2 separate regions of the Homo sapiens genome follow, and region 1 is linked to region 2. The links are contacts of gene promoters, found by promoter capture Hi-C in blood cells and fetal thymus (Javierre and others, 2016). All regions are on one chromosome and are shown on one strand. Each heading gives the region's core, a stretch centred on a gene start or on the middle of the fragment in contact. The rest is flanking DNA. Distances are from core to core; before and after follow the strand shown.

Evidence for each region. The method cuts DNA at HindIII sites, captures the fragments that hold promoters and counts their contacts. A CHiCAGO score of 5 or more calls a contact.
Region 1: a contact is called between the fragment with the promoter of OR8B4 here and the fragment with the promoter of OR8D2 in region 2, in 1 of 17 cell types (neutrophils). The highest score is 5.7, in neutrophils.

The regions. Positions count from the first base shown.
Region 1 is chr11:124,422,882-124,426,236 of GRCh38, reverse strand. It overlaps OR8B4 (olfactory receptor family 8 subfamily B member 4), which reads left to right and starts at 1,366. Exons shown (of 1, transcript NM_001005196.1): 1 at 1,366-2,295. The coding sequence starts at 1,366. The coding sequence ends at 2,295. The HindIII fragment of the contact is 2,701 bases long and covers 204-2,904 here.
Region 2 is chr11:124,318,532-124,321,783 of GRCh38, reverse strand. It overlaps OR8D2 (olfactory receptor family 8 subfamily D member 2), which reads left to right and starts at 1,587. Exons shown (of 1, transcript NM_001002918.1): 1 at 1,587-2,522. The coding sequence starts at 1,587. The coding sequence ends at 2,522. The region is part of intron 2 of LOC112268069 (a long non-coding RNA gene); the gene reads right to left. The HindIII fragment of the contact is 6,670 bases long and covers 1-3,252 here.

The DNA of each region.
Region 1 (3,355 bases), core at 117-2,616, 100 kb before region 2:
ATTAGAGCTGCGAGTAGGTGGTGTTTGTGGTGGAGGTGGTGTGGTTTCTGTTCTGAGCAGCGCATGGTCCAAGAAGCCTTTTATCTGAGGTGCTCTCTGTAGATCTGATCTGACCTTTTCTGAGGGGTCCTACTCTCATAGCTCCCTGTGAAGATTTGGAGATGGTGGCTTAGGTTGGGGCTATTCACTCTTAAATTCAAGCTTAGGCTCTGAGAGTTAATGAGAAAGGAAAAAATGAGTCCCCAAACTCAGCACTGAATAACATGAAATCCCTGGAGTAGAGGGAAAGTTTGAGTGGAACCCCCACTCCCAAGATGCTAGGTAAGCACCGTTATCCAGGCTGTAAACAAAGACAGTGCAATTCCTTCCCTATAGAGACAGATCTTGGAGAAATTCCCAGGGGAAACTGTGTCTAATCAGGTCCCTGAGATCGTCAAGCAGCTTAAATTCCTCTGTGATATGACAGCTGGGGTTCTGGTCAAAATGAGAGTTCCTAGTTTTTTTTCCTGAAGTTGTCAAGACCACCTGGGAAAATCCACAAACAGAAACCATGGTCTATTCCTTGAGCACCTTGGAGCCTGGGGTCTGTAAAAGCTCTGATTCTCAGCACCAAGGGAGTCAAAAGAGGTAATACGCAAGGCTGTGTGCTTTCTGCACAAGCAGCACCATTTTCTCTTTCTGGCTAATGGAAAAAGAGATGGCGTAAGGCCCAGCACTGAGTGGGGCCCGGGAGAAGGAAGGTGAAGGTCCGAATCCTGTCTTTCCTGATGGTCTCTTTGAAACCCACAACCAAGGGCTCTGGGAAGTATGGATCCCGTCTCTGCTCTCAACACTGACCCTGAGGTGAGATGGAATGGAGGGTCTTCGAGGAGGCGGGTGGGATGTAAAGAGCCAGCAGGTAACACTCTTGGCTTTCTCTCCAGATGGAAATCCACTATCTAGTTGGGAGACGGAGGCAGAGAATGGGAGGGCATCCTGGTGACCTTGAGAGCTCTGGTCTCTCAGCTCTTGAGGCAGCGGCCCAGGTTGTACTCTTGGTTCTCAGGGTGTCTTTCTGAGAGTCCCTGGGCAGCCAATTCAGGTGTGTTGTCTCCCTCGTCATCTCTCAAGCAGAGACGGAATTCTTGCTGCCCATGGTAACAGATGCTAGCTTGAATTCATGATCGGCCCAGCAGAGCTGAGATCCTCTCACAGACACGTTGTTAATACCTCAGGGTGGGGAGGTGTGTAGATGAGGGAGGATGGAAGAGAGGGCATCTGCACACTGGCTGGTCCACTAGAGTCTTCTTCCCTTAGCCATGCTTGTGCCTGTCATGACTCTTTGTGTTTTGCCCTCTGCTTCCCCAGACAGCTCGCCAAGAGAGAATGACTCTGAGAAACAGCTCCTCAGTGACTGAGTTTATCCTTGTGGGATTATCAGAACAGCCAGAGCTCCAGCTCCCTCTTTTCCTTCTATTCTTAGGGATCTATGTGTTCACTGTGGTGGGCAACTTGGGCTTGATCACCTTAATTGGGATAAATCCTAGCCTTCACACCCCCATGTACTTTTTCCTCTTCAACTTGTCCTTTATAGATCTCTGTTATTCCTGTGTGTTTACCCCCAAAATGCTGAATGACTTTGTTTCAGAAAGTATCATCTCTTATGTGGGATGTATGACTCAGCTATTTTTCTTCTGTTTCTTTGTCAATTCTGAGTGCTATGTGTTGGTATCAATGGCCTATGATCGCTATGTGGCCATCTGCAACCCCCTGCTCTACATGGTCACCATGTCCCCAAGGGTCTGCTTTCTGCTGATGTTTGGTTCCTATGTGGTAGGGTTTGCTGGGGCCATGGCCCACACTGGAAGCATGCTGCGACTGACCTTCTGTGATTCCAACGTCATTGACCATTATCTGTGTGACGTTCTCCCCCTCTTGCAGCTCTCCTGCACCAGCACCCATGTCAGTGAGCTGGTATTTTTCATTGTTGTTGGAGTAATCACCATGCTATCCAGCATAAGCATCGTCATCTCTTACGCTTTGATACTCTCCAACATCCTCTGTATTCCTTCTGCAGAGGGCAGATCCAAAGCCTTTAGCACATGGGGCTCCCACATAATTGCTGTTGCTCTGTTTTTTGGGTCAGGGACATTCACCTACTTAACAACATCTTTTCCTGGCTCTATGAACCATGGCAGATTTGCCTCAGTCTTTTACACCAATGTGGTTCCCATGCTTAACCCTTCGATCTACAGTTTGAGGAATAAGGATGATAAACTTGCCCTGGGCAAAACCCTGAAGAGAGTGCTCTTCTAATGGGTCTCTTCATATCACTGGCAACCGATTCTCGGTAAGCATGATACTCAAGTGTCTTTCTATTTATAGGCGGAGGAATTTTAATATTTTTCCTCAAAGAGGGTCTCCTCTCCACTTTTAAAAATTGGAAATCTCTTTCCTATACTCTCCTTGAGGACTATATTATTTTGCAACAATTAAATTGGCTCACTGCCTGCAAGTTAGTGTCTATGAAATGCCTTTTGTTTACTGAACTCTGTATTAGGCCCAAGAGATGAGTAAGATGAGGCTCCATGCCTTCCATTCTTTTCTTGGTAGGCTAAATGGGTTTTTCTGAGCAAGAACGTTTCTGGCTGGAACAAGGGGCAGGTGGTGGTATAAAGGTTGAGGAGTGTTTTCTCTTTAGTTACATAAGCAGACTTATTAAAGATCAATGGTAGATACCTTGGTGCCAGTGCTAATATGATTATATATCCAGCTCTTCAGGAGGTTGCTTGGTCAGGAAGATCATAAACCCTCCTTTTCATATACATGTATGTACATAAAAGAAGCCCTCACACAAGAATTTTCTATGATCTGCTCTGTAAGGATAAATCAAATCCAAATCTTTTATTTCAAAGTTCTAAAGCTTCTGGGCCTTGGAATGGTAATCAGGGGTAAGTGATCCTGTGTAATTGGGCCAATTTCTTAGGCTCCGGAGACTCAGGCTGGAAGAAGAAACAAGGAAGAACTCCACGGATTTGCATGATCTGTAAAATGTGGCCTCTGCCTTGCTCTGGAGATACTAAGCACACTACTGGATTTTAGGAAGATTGCTTATTCTTTAAAGTGGATTTAGATTTTACAGTTCTGACAACGTGTGTGCATGTTTATATGTGTGTGTGTGTGTGTGTGTGTGTGTCTGTATGTGTATTACAGTTAATCAATATAGAATCGGAAAGAAAGAGGAGTCATATTACACGTCCCACTCTCAGGGAGTCTGGAAGGGATCTGGATTTTGAGTGCCAAAGACCACTCTGTATTACTCTGCTAAAGGTTCTGCTGTTCTACATTGAAGAGTTCAGTGCTCCAGCTCGTGGCC
Region 2 (3,252 bases), core at 338-2,837:
AGGCAGAAGCAGGAACCTGGACAAAGGAAAAGGCAGAGGCTCACGACAGAGGTGGGAACTTCAAGAAAGTGTCGGACATCATCTCAAAAACCCAGTGCAGAACTCTCAAGCTGCTGCTGGCTCACTCCCCTTCAGCAGCCAGCTCTGTCTCACCTTTCCAGAGTGTACTGTCTCTCTCTAAATAAGCTCTCTGCTATTTTTCTTCAACAAATTCTCTTTTTGGCTAATTCAGTCATTTGGTAGAATATTTTTCCAAGTAAGGCTAAAAATCTAGAATTCCTGAACTTCCCGTAACAGGGCTTGTTAGAGTTGCATTCTGGTAACTCTGATTCTCTTTCTCTTAGAGTATTCTCTAATTCCCCTAATTCAGAAACATGGCTGTCTTCTCAAGTGCTCTTGGAGATAACACCCCACCTGTCAGCTTTTAAATCGATATACATATTGAGTACCCTTAAAACACTGTAGAAGCAAATTTTTATAAATTTTTGTTTGTGATCATAAAAATATGTTTTTATGCAAAATAAAAGCAAACAACATCTCACTCTATGTATGGAGTTTTTCCTCCCTTGACATTTTTTCTCACTTTGGAAAAAAATTATGAAACCTGATGTCTTAGGTAATATACAGTGTTTCAGCTGAAAGCAACACACCCTGAATCCTTTGCTTAAACTTTAGGGGAAACGAAGTCAGGGAATAAGAAATCTCCAGTTCAGATCTCACAGCTTTGAAAGAGAAAGGTCAGTGAGAGTTTGGCCATGAATAATGGATAGCAGGAAAGGGCCAAGGAGGGAAGCGCTGAGTTGCTGATGGTTCAGGTCTTACACCTGAAAGTCAGCCTTACTTCTTTGCTTCTTTGCTGTTTCTGGAACAGGAAAGATCTAAACTAGAATCTCAGGATAGCCCTTGGCACAACATTTCTGTCAACCACATCCACACTGAGTACAAGAATCTCCTGGCCCACTCAAGTTTTCCATTCAAAGAACAGAAGTGAGCTAATGAGGGTCAGAATTGATTAGAACCATTTCCATACTTTTTTTTTTTGTACTAAGGTCTCTTTATAGACGTCTTTTATGTTTCTTATTTCCTAGTTTTAGCAAATGCTAATTATGTTGATTCATGTTGATGGGTAAGGAAACTGAAATGGACTACTTTTATATCATCAGAGCTGGATTAGAAGCCATGTTGTAACAAAGTCTGAAGGTTCTATTGGCATATGCTCAGATAAAGAAGGTAAGCAGTGTTGTTTTAATGGTAGCAATGACAAACTAATTAGATTTGGAAAGTTTGTGCTTCCTCCAGCAGTGAGGTAATTATGGGCATAAGCCTGGAAACAAAATGGGAGGACTCTTACTAAAAGAGGAGCATTCAACAGGGTTTTGGGTGAAATCAAGGTTCTTGGTTATACTCATAATATTTGCCCTTGATCTTGTAAGAGGTCCCTGAAAAGAGGCAATCATGGGACAGATGAGGCTCTCAGGAATGGAAGCAACCAACATGGGGCATGTCATTCTGCTTTGGGAATCAGAAAATAAATCTAATGTCTCTCTTTTCTCTTATTTCTTATTACACATAATACCTTAAAAGACATGGCTACTTCAAACCATTCTTCAGGGGCTGAGTTTATCCTGGCAGGCTTGACACAACGCCCAGAACTTCAACTGCCACTCTTCCTCCTGTTCCTTGGAATATATGTGGTCACAGTGGTGGGGAACCTGGGCATGATCTTCTTAATTGCTCTCAGTTCTCAACTTTACCCTCCAGTGTATTATTTTCTCAGTCATTTGTCTTTCATTGATCTCTGCTACTCCTCTGTCATTACCCCTAAGATGCTGGTGAACTTTGTTCCAGAGGAGAACATTATCTCCTTTCTGGAATGCATTACTCAACTTTATTTCTTCCTTATTTTTGTAATTGCAGAAGGCTACCTTCTGACAGCCATGGAATATGACCGTTATGTTGCTATCTGTCGCCCACTGCTTTACAATATTGTCATGTCCCACAGGGTCTGTTCCATAATGATGGCTGTGGTATACTCACTGGGTTTTCTGTGGGCCACAGTCCATACTACCCGCATGTCAGTGTTGTCATTCTGTAGGTCTCATACGGTCAGTCATTATTTTTGTGATATTCTCCCCTTATTGACTCTGTCTTGCTCCAGCACCCACATCAATGAGATTCTGCTGTTCATTATTGGAGGAGTTAATACCTTAGCAACTACACTGGCGGTCCTTATCTCTTATGCTTTCATTTTCTCTAGTATCCTTGGTATTCATTCCACTGAGGGGCAATCCAAAGCCTTTGGCACTTGTAGCTCCCATCTCTTGGCTGTGGGCATCTTTTTTGGGTCTATAACATTCATGTATTTCAAGCCCCCTTCCAGCACTACTATGGAAAAAGAGAAGGTGTCTTCTGTGTTCTACATCACAATAATCCCCATGCTGAATCCTCTAATCTATAGCCTGAGGAACAAGGATGTGAAAAATGCACTGAAGAAGATGACTAGGGGAAGGCAGTCATCCTGACAAAGAGGGTTCTCATTGGCAGCCAGAAAAAATAAACCATATAAAAAGTTGTTATAGGATCTTTGTAAGTTTCTGTCTCTCTCGGAGAGAGAAAAATTATCATCACTTAAAAATGTATATTTTATATTAGAGAATGATTAAGACATTTTTGGAGATTATGAAACAAAATTTTCTGATGGTCAATATAATCTTCGAAAATGTATTAGAGAAATGGGAGATGACAGAAGAGGAAGGGCAAATAAACATTAAAAACAATTTATTGAACATATTACTTTTGAAAGCCCAGGCTGGTCTTGAACTTCTGGCCTCAAGTAATCCTCCAAACTTGGCCTCCCAATGTGCTGGAATTAGAAGCCTGAGTCACGATCCTCAGCCTTGAAATAGTTGATTTAATGGATGACAGAGCATGATTCACAAAGACTTTTAAAGGCTGGAGTGATAGTCGCATTTAATGAGATTTTAAAAATGTACATGGGTAATATAAGATTCTATACTTCTATAAAAATGGAGAGAGTGGGAAAAACTTTATTTAACTCCAGAGAATTAAGGATTTTTGACAATATAAGTAAAAAGCATAACTACCTAGAAAGTTACTGTTACCTTGTCTGCATTAGCTACATTTTAGTATTTAGAATGAGGAACATTCTAGTTATCACTTGCACAACAGCAATTAGACTGTGTCCACTTGAAAGTAATTTACTTTGTTGATATTACTATTTAAGAGGCCACT